Regions from separate parts of the Homo sapiens genome. Here regions 2, 3 and 4 are each linked to region 1. The links are contacts of gene promoters, found by promoter capture Hi-C in blood cells and fetal thymus (Javierre and others, 2016). All regions are on one chromosome and are shown on one strand. The core of a region is centred on a gene start or on the middle of the fragment in contact, and the rest is flanking DNA. Distances in the headings are between cores, read along the strand shown. Region 1 holds the start of CEP120 (centrosomal protein 120). Region 2 holds the start of PRRC1 (proline rich coiled-coil 1). Region 3 holds the start of MARCHF3 (membrane associated ring-CH-type finger 3). Region 4 holds the start of ALDH7A1 (aldehyde dehydrogenase 7 family member A1).

What was found. The method cuts DNA at HindIII sites, captures the fragments that hold promoters and counts their contacts. A CHiCAGO score of 5 or more calls a contact.
Region 2: a contact is called between the fragment with the promoter of PRRC1 here and the fragment with the promoter of CEP120 in region 1, in 2 of 17 cell types (non-activated CD4 T cells and fetal thymus). The highest score is 6.5, in non-activated CD4 T cells.
Region 3: a contact is called between the fragment with the promoter of MARCHF3 here and the fragment with the promoter of CEP120 in region 1, in 1 of 17 cell types (monocytes). The highest score is 8.8, in monocytes.
Region 4: the fragment with the promoter of ALDH7A1 here is called in contact with the fragment with the promoter of CEP120 in region 1 in 1 of 17 cell types (M0 macrophages); the score reaches 5.1 in M0 macrophages.

The regions. Positions count from the first base shown.
Region 1 is chr5:123,421,746-123,424,791 of GRCh38, reverse strand. CEP120 (centrosomal protein 120) reads left to right here and starts at 1,389. Exons shown (of 20, transcript NM_001375405.1): 1 at 1,389-1,842. The coding sequence starts at 1,794. RefSeq lists a silencer at 1,689-1,848 and an enhancer at 1,178-2,123. The HindIII fragment of the contact is 3,797 bases long and covers 1-1,896 here.
Region 2 is chr5:127,516,211-127,519,256 of GRCh38, reverse strand. It overlaps PRRC1 (proline rich coiled-coil 1), which reads right to left and starts at 1,617. Exons shown (of 9, transcript NM_130809.5): 1 at 1,481-1,617. RefSeq lists an enhancer at 1,440-1,619 and a silencer at 1,680-1,749. The HindIII fragment of the contact is 4,735 bases long and covers 961-3,046 here.
Region 3 is chr5:127,029,114-127,032,159 of GRCh38, reverse strand. MARCHF3 (membrane associated ring-CH-type finger 3) reads left to right here and starts at 1,602. Exons shown (of 5, transcript NM_178450.5): 1 at 1,602-1,810. It overlaps LOC105379163 (a long non-coding RNA gene), which reads right to left and starts at 817. Exons shown (of 2, transcript XR_007058920.1): 1 at 1-817. RefSeq lists an enhancer at 720-1,264 and a silencer at 1,261-1,640. The HindIII fragment of the contact is 7,560 bases long and covers 1-3,046 here.
Region 4 is chr5:126,593,564-126,596,609 of GRCh38, reverse strand. ALDH7A1 (aldehyde dehydrogenase 7 family member A1) reads left to right here and starts at 1,391. Exons shown (of 18, transcript NM_001182.5): 1 at 1,391-1,603. The coding sequence starts at 1,412. The HindIII fragment of the contact is 2,913 bases long and covers 1-2,352 here.

The DNA.
Region 1 (3,046 bases), core at 140-2,639:
TTTAAAAATAACACAACAGATGAAGATGATTGGTCTTAAGTTGATAATCGTTGAAGCTGGGGTCTGGGTAACTGGGGGTTCATTATATCATTCTGCTTTCTTTAAAGTATGTTTGACATCTTCCACAAAAATAATGCATTGTTCAATGATGAATCCAAAGTAGATCATTACTTTGATTTTACATTGAATAGTGCTTCATTTTAAGAATGCCTGTGATAGGACCTGAAAGGGCCTTAGAAGTAATTAGTCCAATCTCTACATATTCCTCCTTTTCTTTTGGGCAGAAAGCAAAGAAGGAAGAATAAAGAAGAGGAAGAAGAAAACAATAGTGATATTATATTATTTGCTCTCAAAATAACTTCTAAATTTCCAAAACAAGGAAGCAATAGAAGAAAAAGAAAACAGCGAGATATTATATTTGCTCTCAAAACAACTTCTCAATTTACAAAACCAGAAAGTAATAGGAGAAGCCGCACTTATGTCCACTACCTAGTGCTATCTCTGCAGCTTTATTTTATTATGATTTACTTTTGTTTTCCGAAGCAGAATTTTTCCCAAACTTAATAGTGTCCACGATCGCTCCAACCAATTCGGTTATTTAAGTTTCAAGCTAGATAACCTCCAAAAGAACTTTGCCTTTGACTTGAATACATGCTTCTTGCAATTTGAGTAGTGTTTAGGAGGCCGTTCCCTTTACAAGTCTTGAACCGTTTCTTAAATCTGAATTTGGGAGACGTTAAGGGGAAAGGGTCGGCAGACAGCACCTCAATGCCTTGTTTATTTTTGGTTTTGAGTTTGCTAATAACTTTGTCATCGGGGGTGGAAGAACCTTTATATTTCATTGCCCACGTGACAGTGTTTTTGTTTTAGGGGTAATTTCTAAGGGACAGGAAATTCTCGGGGAGTTTACGTCAGCTTTAACAAGTACAGTAATTACCGTATTGAAGCTACTTGTTTTCAAAGGTCGGAAATTTGAGGTGCCGCGTGAGCACGATTTAGGGACTTTAGAGTTTAGATTTAAGTCATTATTTTTTTGTGATTTAATTTTTTAAGCAGTGTTGACACTGGGTACGTCAACTAAGCTAGGTTTTTTTGTTTTTTTAATCCCCACTAATATAACTCTCAGGTTGTGGCTGAAGCATAAAGCAGGTAATACGCTACACTCACGCTCCTTAAAGGCTACGCAGCTTCAGGAAGCGTTTACAGCAGTAGTGCGCTTGCGCAGCTGGTCCCACACCAAGTCGCCCGCCTCTCCTCGTCCGGCTAGCAGAGGGCGCTGTGAGGTAATGAAGGCGTCCTCCTTAGGGCTCTGGAACAGAGCGTAAAAGGGCGGGAGGCGAAGCTCGCTGACGGGCGTTCTAGCCTTGACTGCTCTGTCTCTATCACCCGTTGTCCTCCAACCTCCCCTGGGCACTGGGCCTGCGGGCCTGGTTGCTAGGCGGAAGCTGGGCGCGGCGGCGGCCGCTGCGGCCGCCCGGGCGTTTGAAAAGCGGCTACGCAGGCGGCAAAAGGTCCTCGGGTGGCGGGCTTGTCTCTGCTTGCAGACTGGCAGGGCTGCAGCGTGGCTTTTTCCTTGAGTCGGGGCACAGTTAGGATCTGGGCTGGCGGCCCGAGGCAGAGGAGCCGGGCGCGCTGCAGCAGACGGCGGTGGGACCTGGCTGCGGAGCGGGGTCCGGGCATCAGGGACCGGGGGCGGGCAGTGGGGGTCCCGCCGGGGGTCCCGGATTACCCGCGACTCAACTGGACCTCACTTCCCCCCAGCCGCCTTCGCCCCCGGACCGCTCACCGCAACCATGGTCTCCAAATCCGACCAATTGCTCATCGTCGTGTCCATCCTAGAAGGTGAGCAGCCTGAGGCTTGCTTTTGCAACTGCTGCCTCCCGAGTTTTAAAAGCTTAGTGTGGGACCGAGGCCTTGTTAACCTTAAGAACCCTGTCATCTGTGCTTTTGTGGTCCCCACAGACTTGTTCAAAGTTGTACGTAGTGAGGTCTGTTAGGCAATTGATTTAAAAATCTCTCCAGGGATATGAGCGCTATTAGGGATAAGTGATATTTAGCGTGACTAGCCGTAGCCCCAGAGAATCTAGAGAAAACGATTTTCATCCAAAGCAGCACGTCGATGGCTTTTATATATGAGCTGAACGTGGTCCTGAGAAGCGCGTTCTGATCAGCGGTTCCCAATAATAGCACTTGTAAGAGCTTTGACTTGAATACAGGCTTCCTGCGATTCCAGAAGTGTTCCGGAGGCAATTCCCTTTACACGTCTTGCTGGAGGACTCAGGGGACTACAGTTCTTAAGAGGGTGTATTATACATTCCTTAAAAGGTGTGTTTTGGATGAATGACATTGGTTTATTGGGACTCATTGAGTGTCAGACACTGTGCTGGGAATGTAAGAATGAAACAGTCCTGATTCTAAAAAGCTAAGGATGTAGCAAGGAGAGTGTGTCAGCAAATAATTCATCAGGATGTGGAAGACCCTAATGAATGACCACCTCTGTCTAAGGAAACTGCGGAAGTTTCACTAGAGGAGGTGGCATTTTTTGGGGTCCTACAGATGATTAGGAATTTGTCAGGTGAAAAAAGGAAGGGCATTCCAGGCAAAGAGAAGAGCAGGGAGCACTTAAAGTATGGAAAAGCAAGACACGTTTTGCCTTGCTTAATTAAATTCACTCAGTAAACATTGGTTAAATTCAGTGTGGTTGGAGAACAGATTTGCAAGAAAGTGGAGGGCATAGGAGATAACAGGTGAATTGAGGACACTTTACGAATAGTATGTTAAGAAGGAGTCATCTTGAGCCAGAGCAGAAGCCTGGCTGCATTTTTTCCCCCATGGGAGAGTGTTTTATAAAGGCCTGGCACTGTGTGAGGGATGAGAGCAAAGGAAACATTGTAATCCTAATCTTTGAATTTTGGAACAAGAGACTGACCAGAAAAGCCATAAAGATTTGGAGCACTATTAACTGTTAGTTTACTTATTGTTTAAAAACATAGGACTGAAATAACCTTAAAATTTGGTTAACAACAGTTTTTAGACTTATAACTGA
Region 2 (3,046 bases), core at 368-2,867, 4.1 Mb before region 1:
AGATAGAAATGCCCCTTTGGAGATTTTACCACTCCTCAACCAAAGCTCCCTCTTTTCTTCATTTAATTTTTTATTGGTCATTCACCCTCTACTACAGATGCTCCCCAATCCTTACAATGACTAGTAGAAGTCCTATTGTAAGAGAATCCCTAACATTAACAAATGTGTCTGCAAAAGAAACTGTACAATGAATACAAAGTCATTAAGTGGAATAAATAATCAATTTCTTTGTCTTTAATGGCTTTTTATATGAAAACTGCCGTAATGGCAATACTGAGGTAAATTTTACATGCATAAACATAGTGCCTTCTACTAAAAAAACCTATTATGATAAAACAATACTGAAGTGTCAGAGTTGGTAACTGTTTTAGGGCTCAAGTCTTGTCACGAAAAGTACTATTCATATATCAACACTAAAGAAAAAGTGAAGAAAATGGTTTGGAAAACTGAGTTCTCAGTCCGGCTAGACCCTGTTGTTCCAATTTGCTTGTGCCTTGGTTTTTCTGTTAAAAAAAAAAAAAAAAAGTGGATGTCTATTTACAAGTTTACAAGAAATGGAAGAGTGAAGCTCTGATAAACTTTAAAGCATTAAGAGCAATTATTGCTGACCTACTCGTGCCACAAGATTGTCTCTACTACCAAACAGTGAGCGCTAGTTAGAGCCTAATCTGACCCCGAAATAAAATTTTATAAATTTTCACTGAATTAAACACTGGCTGCACAGGAGAAAGACTGAATGCCAAGATGTGTCACGATCGCAGAAATGCACATGTTGTCTCTCAAAATAACTACTTCGAATGACAAAAACACTATTGGCTATAAATTCTGTCAATCTAGGAAACGTGCTATCTGCAAATTTGCCTGAAGCAGGTCCCAAGACCAAACAAAGAAACGAGAGAATGCAAAAACTCTCCCAAGCGGCGCTAAGCACCGATGGGGTAACCTCAGGGAAAATAAGCTTCCTTTCATTGCAGGTCCTGGTGTGATGACTCTCGAGCCTCCTGGGCCTCTCCAGGGCCAGAGCGGCCGAAATCCTGTTTCAGGAGACAGCGGCTTCCCCTCAGGCTCTGCCACGTCTCCAGGCCAGACAGGGCCGGGCTAAGGTCCGCCGGCGCTCCCGCCAGTCTCCCCTAAAGTCAGCGCCCTGGAAGGTGGGGCCAGAGCGCTCCTGCCTTGGTCCTTGGACAGGAGCAAAGTGTCGCGGGGCGAGACCCTCGAACCGCGCCCACCGTGCCATCCCCAGCGGAAACTGCTCACCTTGCGATGTGCACTCCTGCCTGCTGCACCCCGCACGCCGCCACAGCTGAGCCTGGACCACGGGACTAGGGGGCTCGCAAACGACATCGGCGTCCAGTGGCGCCGGCCGGCCCGCCCACCTTCCAGGGACACCGTCCCTCGGGGTCTGGCTCTGGCGCCTGCAAGCCATGCCATGCCATGCCACCCCCCTCATACACGCCCCTCGGAGCCACCTGGCGCTCACCTGGGGACCGGGAAAGTGCCTGCGTGGTCGCTGAAGAGTGTGGTATGATAGGGAGGTCGGGACGTAGAACTACAGCTTGGAGAAGACAACGAAGGCGCACCCTGGAAGTTACCTCGGCGTGTCCCCGCCTACAAGATGGCCACGGGCGGCGCATGCTCCTGCGGCTGCCACGTCGGCCGCGCGCCGCACCGCGCCGCGCGTCGCCGCCCCGCCCCGCTCCGCCCCGCATCGCATCGCCCCGCTCCGCCTCCGCATCGCCCCGCCCCCCCTGTCCCATGCGCTGTGAACCCGGCCGGGACGCTGCAAGTTAAACTTTGGAGCCAAGATCTTCCTAACTACCGAGACTTGGTTCTGCCCACACCCTCTAGAAACATCTTCCAAAGGGCTGGCCTCCTTTCTACTTCGCAGCCCCCTTACACGAGAGTGGCACTCTTGTTACCAGGCGTAGCTCACTCATCCTGTGCCACAGCGGCCCAAGGGATAAGATCAGTTAGCCAAGGTCATCTGGTTGGCGGTCATCTAGCCAACATCAGCTAGTCCAGTCAGCACCTCCAGGAAGGACCTCGCGGCAGATACAGGGGACTTAGCCTGTATAGTCAAAGATTTCCAGATAACAGTGATTATATCAGGAGAGAGGGATTAGGAGAAGAGGGAGAGGGGAGAAGAGTAGCAGTTACTGTACTGAATTTTTCCCCAAGTGCATGTATTGCACATTCTTTTTTTAATTGTAAAATAGACAGATTATCAACTTTCTTATTATATGCTGCACCTAACACAGTACCTGAAATAGTTGGTGTTCAATAATGTACATTAAATAAATTAATGGAGTGCGATAGAGGAAAATAAGGAACTTCAAATCAGAAGTCTTGATTTGAGTCTGAGACTACTCTAATGCCAGTTGTACAGTTGCCTGCCCTTGTACAGGTCACTTAGTCTCCATAAGTCTTCATATTTCTACCTGCAAACTGAGAATAATACTATCCACCATCCCTAAATCAGGCAGGTGACAGACTCAAATAAAATAGAGCATATGAAAATTTTTTAAACTTTTTGTCTTTTTGAGATGGTGTCTTGCCCTGTTGCCCAGGCTGGAGTGCAATGGCGCCATCTCGGCTCACTGCAACCTCTGCCTCCCGGGTTCAAACGATTCTCCTGCCTCAGCCTCCCGAGTAGCTGGGATTACAGGCACAGGCCACCACACCCAGCTAATTTTTGTACTTTTAGTAGAGACAGGGTTTCACCATTTTGGCCAGGCTGGTCTCGAACTCCTGACCTCGGCCCGCCTCGGCCTCCTAAAGTGCTGGGATTACAGGCGTGAGCCACCGCACCTGTCCGAAAACATTTTTTAAATTGCTTAGCATTAAATATATAAAAAATTGTTTTTGTTGTTCTCAATTTTTTTTCAGGAACTCACTTAGAGATTTCACATTAATCTATCTCTTGAGCTTCACAGTTGTAAGCATTCCAAAATACCTCACTGAAAAGTTAATACTATGTAGCAATACTCTGACTTCAGATCTCACTGTGCAACTACCATGGGCGGTTTTCTTTGGCGGTGGCTCCTAT
Region 3 (3,046 bases), core at 353-2,852, 3.6 Mb before region 1:
GCCATTTCACTCCTTTTCAGCCACCAGCCCTTTACATTCCTTCTCCCTGGTGACCTCATCAGAACCTTCTCATGAGAGGTCAGCTATGATGCAAGACCTTATAGAGGCCAGATGGCATTGAAATAACACCTTGCAGCTCCCTTACATGTGAATAATTGCCCATACTGAGAGACTAAAACCCTTAGGACTTCTGGGACCTGAATGAGGCAATGGTCTGAAGTGGGCTTGCGCTGGAAGCAAGACGTAAGTGGTGAAGGTGAGTATCAGGGCAGCAGGTTGACCCCTTTCTTGTTATGAGCATGCATTCCTTCATTCTTACTAATACGGGTTAGGTGCCTACCCATGGCAAGAGCAGTTCTAGGCAGGGAGAGGCCCCTACCCACCCACAGCTGACGGTCTAGGGCTTGTTTACATTCTAGGTTTCAGCGGGAAAGCAAGAACACCCAACTCCCTGCTTTTGATTCTATGTTAGTAGCTCAGCGCGCCTGTGCGAGCACGTGCTGCAGCCAGGGTAGGGGCTCAGAAACTGGTTGACAAGATGAGCAGTGGGGTCCTAGGGGGTTGGGCGGGAAGGGCCCACAAGGCCATATTCCAGGCTGTTCGGCTGCGAGTGACCCCTGAGAGGTCGGGATCTCCGAGCTCGTCCGATGTCTCCATCCCAGCCAGGAGCTTGCGAAGGGGAAGGAGGGCGGAAGCAGAGTGGGACAGATGTGGTTCGTTCTGGGGCTTCCTGTCCACGAAGATGGATAATTCTAGCGACCCGCCTGGGATTTTGGAATCCTGGCGGACCCAAAAGACAGCAGAAGTCACCGCAGAGGATGCCACCCCGCACGGCAGCCCGCCCAGAGCGACGGTCTCACAGGTTCCGGCGCCGTCGAGCGCCCAAGCCTCCTGTTGGCCGCCAGCTGTGTCCGCGACGCGCTGGGTCGGGAGGAGGAGACCCGAGGCGCCGGTAAGTCCCCCGCTGCAGGTGGCCCGGAGGGCAGGGGTGAGGACGGGGACGTGTACTGAACTTTGGGAGGTTTGCGGGGCTGGAGTTTTGTTTCAGAGATAGCCAGATCGAGATCAGAACGTTTTCCAGAGAGCCCAGGTTTCCACTTGTGGCTGGGCGACCCGGTCCGGAATTCATCCTTTCTCGGCCCTCAGCTTCCTCCGGGCGGGGTTCCGATGGGGCAGCTAAGTTCCGCGCCTCCTGCCGGTGCCAGATACTGGCGTGTCGACCCGCGCTGCGGTTGGCTTCTTGCTCCACAGCGCTATGCGCGCGGCGGCTCCGAGGGCTCCTGGTCTCTCTCAGCCAACGGCCTTCTGGGGCCGCCGCCTCCCTCTAGAGCTGCTCGGGTCCCATTGCAGAGAGTCCCGCAGCGCCCGCCGGCAGCCACGGCACTTCGCAATAACCAACTTCCCCGCCGCCGGCGCGTCCCGCCAGCCTGCCCTCGGCCGCAGGCGACTGGACGGCGGTTACGGGGCGGTCCCAGCGCCACCACGACTGGCTGTCGGCTCCGCCAGTCATGGGCTGATGACGCCCCGGGGCTGGCTCCGCCCCTAGCGGCAGCCCCGCCTCCCCTCCAGAGCCTGGTCGGCTTAGCCCTGCTTTCCGCCTCACTCGTTGAGCAGGTCCGTGAATTGTCAGCGCGCTGTGGGCGACTGTGTGGCCGCGGCGGCCGCCAGGCTTGCCGCACTCCCCCTGAGGTGCCCGCCGGAACCAATGTGCCCTGGTCCACTGGGCCGTGAGCAGCCACCGACTGGGGGCAACTTGGCACTTAGAACCGCAGCAGGGACGTCGGTTTGCTATCGGGACTCGGCGAGGACGGTGAGTGGCCGCGCGCCGGGCTAGCGGCTCCTCTCGGCGCGGTTCGGCGGCGGCGAGAGGGGACGGGACGCGTCCTGGCGCTCGGCGGTCCGTTCGTCCGAGCGTGACCGCTGTGGGGAGGTCAGGGCTGGGCGGGATTTACTCCGTGCCAATATCCCCACTCCCGAACTTCTTCTTGTCAAAGCATCCCAACTCCGCCCGGGACGCGGTTCCAGTCCGCACCAACTTGGCGTAATTGACATGGGTAGGTGGGGCCGGGACGCGTCCCCTGCCCCTCTGCGGCAACGACATGGAGCGCTGGGGCGGCCTCCGCGCCCGCGGCGTGCGGACCGCGGTTCCTGAAAAATTACCCGCGCTGTGCGGTACGGTAAGACCCGGCGTCCGCGTCTGGATCTCAAGGCTGAGCGAGCGCTCATCGGGCTCAAGGTGGGTCTCAGCGCCAGAGAACTGGAGTACCAGCCGGGTTCTGTAGCGGGGGCTTCAGTGCTCTGCAGCTACTGAGAGGAATTGAGAGCACTGCTGGGCTTTGAACTTTCTAAAGTAATTGCTTTCTATTAGCACTTGAATCCATGACCCTCCTGAGGTGCTCGGACCTCCACATCCACCCGCAAGGGGTGTCCGAAGGACTTCGTTAGGACCAGGCGGGAGCTGCTGTCGGTTCTGGTGCCCAGTGCCTTGGAGAATCCTAGAGGCTGCGAAAGGGATTGCCAGCCTGGTCGGTTGGTGTTTGTTTGAGCACCTGCGTGTTTAAGTGATGAAGTTGAGTCAGGAATTGACAGCAGAGAACTCAAGGTTAAACCTGACACTCCGTTTGTGACTCGGTCTGGGTTAGATTGTTTTCCCCCCTTAATGGTAAGGGGGTAAAAGCAGCTTGTTTTTCTGAGACCAACTACATGCATGTAGTTTATATTATGTGCGGAATAAACAGAATTCAATACGATATTTTCTTACAATTCTTATTTGACATGAATAAGAGCTTTTGAAAATACTAGACAGAAACAGGTCCAGAATTTGGGGATGTTTAGACCTTTGAAAATACATGAAAATGTTGAGATATATAGTTCTGTATGTGTATATGAAGATGTAGATGCGCATATACACACATACATACGTGTATATGTGTGAGTGTGTGTATATATAAAATTAAAAGGTGAATGAGGTAAATATATGAAGGGGAAATTCAGCCTTGAACTTCCCTTGGGTCACAGAGATGGATCCTCTGAGCTGTGGGGTGTT
Region 4 (3,046 bases), core at 142-2,641, 3.2 Mb before region 1:
CATAGTGAAACCCCTTCTCTACTCAAAATACAAAAAATTGGCCAAGCGTGGTGGTGGGCGCCTGTAATCCCAGCTACGCAGGAGGCTGAGGCAAGGAGAATCGCGTGAACCCGGGAGGCGGAGGTTGCAGTGAGCCGAGATTGCGCCACTGGACTCCAGCCCTGGCAACAGTGCGAGACTACGTCTCAAAAAAAAAAAAAAAATGTAAGAATAGGCCGGACACAGTGGCTCACGCCTGTAATCCCAGCACTTTGGGAGGCAGAGGCGGGCAGATCACGAGGTCAGGAGTTCGAGAGCAGCCTGGCCAACAGGGAGAAACCCCGTCTCTACTAAAAATACAAAAATTAGCTGGTGTGGTGGTGTGCACCTGTAATCCCAGCTACTGGGGAGGCTGAGGCAGGAGAATCACTTGAACCTGGGAGGTTGAAGTTGCAGTGAGTGGAGATCGTGCCATTGCACTCCAGCCTGGGCGATAGGGCGAGACTCCATCTTAAAAAAAAAAAAGTAAGAGGCCGGGCGCAGTGGCTCATGTCTCTAATCCCAGCACTTTCGGAGGCTGAGGCGGGCAGATCATCTCAGGTCAGGAGTTCCAGACCAGCCTGACTAACATGGTGAAACCCCGTTTGTCCTAAAAATACAAAAAATTAGCCGGGTGTGGTGGTGCACACCTGTAATCCCAGCTACTCAGGAGGCTGAGGCAAGAGAATCCGCTTGAACCCGGTAGGCGGAGGTTGCAGTGAGCCGAGATCGCGCCGTTGCACTCTAGCTTGGGCAAGAAGAGCGAAACTCCGTTTCCAAAAAAAAAAAAAAAAAAAAAAAGTAAGAATATACCCAGGCAGGATATTTATAGAGGAAATGCAGCAATCTAATATTTATCATTAATTAGAAAACTTTAATTTGTAATCTACCAAAACAGTGAAAACAACCAACCCTTCCCCCGCCCCCCAATACAAACCCTCCGTTGCCTACTCCAGGGACAAGAGGCGTCACCATCGCTGAGGAGCTGGTTAGGAATGTCGGCTCTCCGACCCTAGCCCAGACTTACTGAATCAGAATGTGCATTTACCACGACGACCAGGTCATTACACGCATTTTACAGTTTCAGAACCCCTGCTATAGCCTACTGTACTTCAGCGCCAATATTTTGCTGAAAAGAATTCCCAGCTGGAACTGTGGCTCCCGGAGTCTTTCACCAGATGGCAGCAGCCCACTCCTCCCTGTAGCACTCCCATTGTTCCAGGCAGGATTCAGCCGCAGGCTCCTCCGGAAGACCAGGGGCAGACGGGGCGGTGGCGGGGTCGTGCCCAGTGGGAGGGGTCGGGTCTGCCCAATGGGTTCTCCCGGGCGGGGGGCGGGGCTCTATTTCAGCAGCTCTCAGGGCCTTGGGCTCATCCCGAGTCCCGGGCTCAGTATGTGGCGCCTTCCTCGCGCGCTGTGTGTGCACGCTGCAAAGACCAGCAAGCTCTCTGGACCTTGGAGCAGGCCTGCCGCCTTCATGTCCACTCTCCTCATCAATCAGCCCCAGTATGCGTGGCTGAAAGAGCTGGGGCTCCGCGAGGAAAACGAGGGCGTGTATAATGGAAGCTGGGGAGGCCGGGGAGAGGTACGCGGGCGCTCAAGAAATCTCTGCAGCCGCCGGGGCTCGCTCGAGGAGGCCGGGCGGGCACTGACCTACCGACTCCCCGCTGGCGCTGGATGCGGTAGTAGCATGGGAGATTTTGAAGCTCCACAGTAAAAGTTTTCTCGTGTAGGGTGCCTTTAAAACAAAAACTTAGATTTTAGGTCCTTGTGTGCTATGCAGAATCGACGTCATTTTGGAGCTGTAGGGGCTAAACTTCCCGCGCATATTTAAAACATTATGGTCTACCGGGCGCGGTGGCTCACCCCTGTAATCCCAGCACTTTGGGAGGCCTAGGCGGGCGGATCACCTGAGGTAGCGAGTTCAAGACCAGCCTGACCGACATGGAGAAACCTTGTCTCTACTAAAAAAAATACAAAATAGCCGGGCGTGGTGGCGCATGCCTGTAATCCCAGCTACTAGGGAGGCTGAGGCAGGAGAATCGCTTGAACCCGGGAGGTGGAGGTCGTAGTGAGCCGAGATCGTGCCATTGCACTCCAGCCTGAGCAACAAGAGCGAAATTCCGTCTCAAAAAAAAAAAAAAAAAAAAAAATTAAAACCTTATGGTCTTGGGATCTATGGTCTTGTGAGAAATGTGGCACACTGAGCGGTGCAACTGATCTTAATTTAGAGCTTAACTCTGGCTCTTCAGCTGTGACGTGCACCGCAGGTAACGTTCTTCAGTGTAGTTTTAAGTTATCTTCCTTCCTGAATTCTTTGGGAGTTTGCAAGCTTGGACGTGCCGAAATCTTGCCATGTTGTACGTTGGGCTGTGAACTCCTTTGAGGACTGGATTTTCAGCATTTCTCCATTGCCCAGGGCTTAACACCGCGCCTGATACCCATTACTGCTCAAAACAATGTTTTATAGAATACAATGGAAAGGTAAGGTTATTATCGCCCAGATTTTTTTTTAAAAGAAAGTTTTTTATAGGAGGATGTTATGTAACAGTTAACAAACTTTGTTGGACGTTGTATATTATATAATGAACCTGCCTTGGTAGAGGGAACACGTCTTTTGGTAATCAGTGGCTGTAGGAGATACAGATAATTTTAATTGCTCCTCAGACCTCGGTGTTTCATCCTGATTTCCGTGTGGTATCTGATCATTAGGCTCTTGGAGGCCTTTTTAGCTGTGCCTTGATTTTCCCTTTCATTGTTGACCTGAGACCTCTCCAGTTGGTGTGGACACGGGACTTTCCAACAGTTTTCCTGCCTTGGCCATTTCATCTCTGAGCAGAGGGTGGGCAGAGTAAGGAAGAGAAGAAATAACTAAAACTAGTCAGTTTGGTCTGTTATTAATGGAAAAAGAGACAAAATAACTGCTTATGTTAAGGCTTTTGTTTATATGCCTAATATTGAGATGTCAGAGGCGAGTTTTGCAGAAAGGTAGTTTCTAATGTTTAAGTCAGAAATGAAAGACAACCTC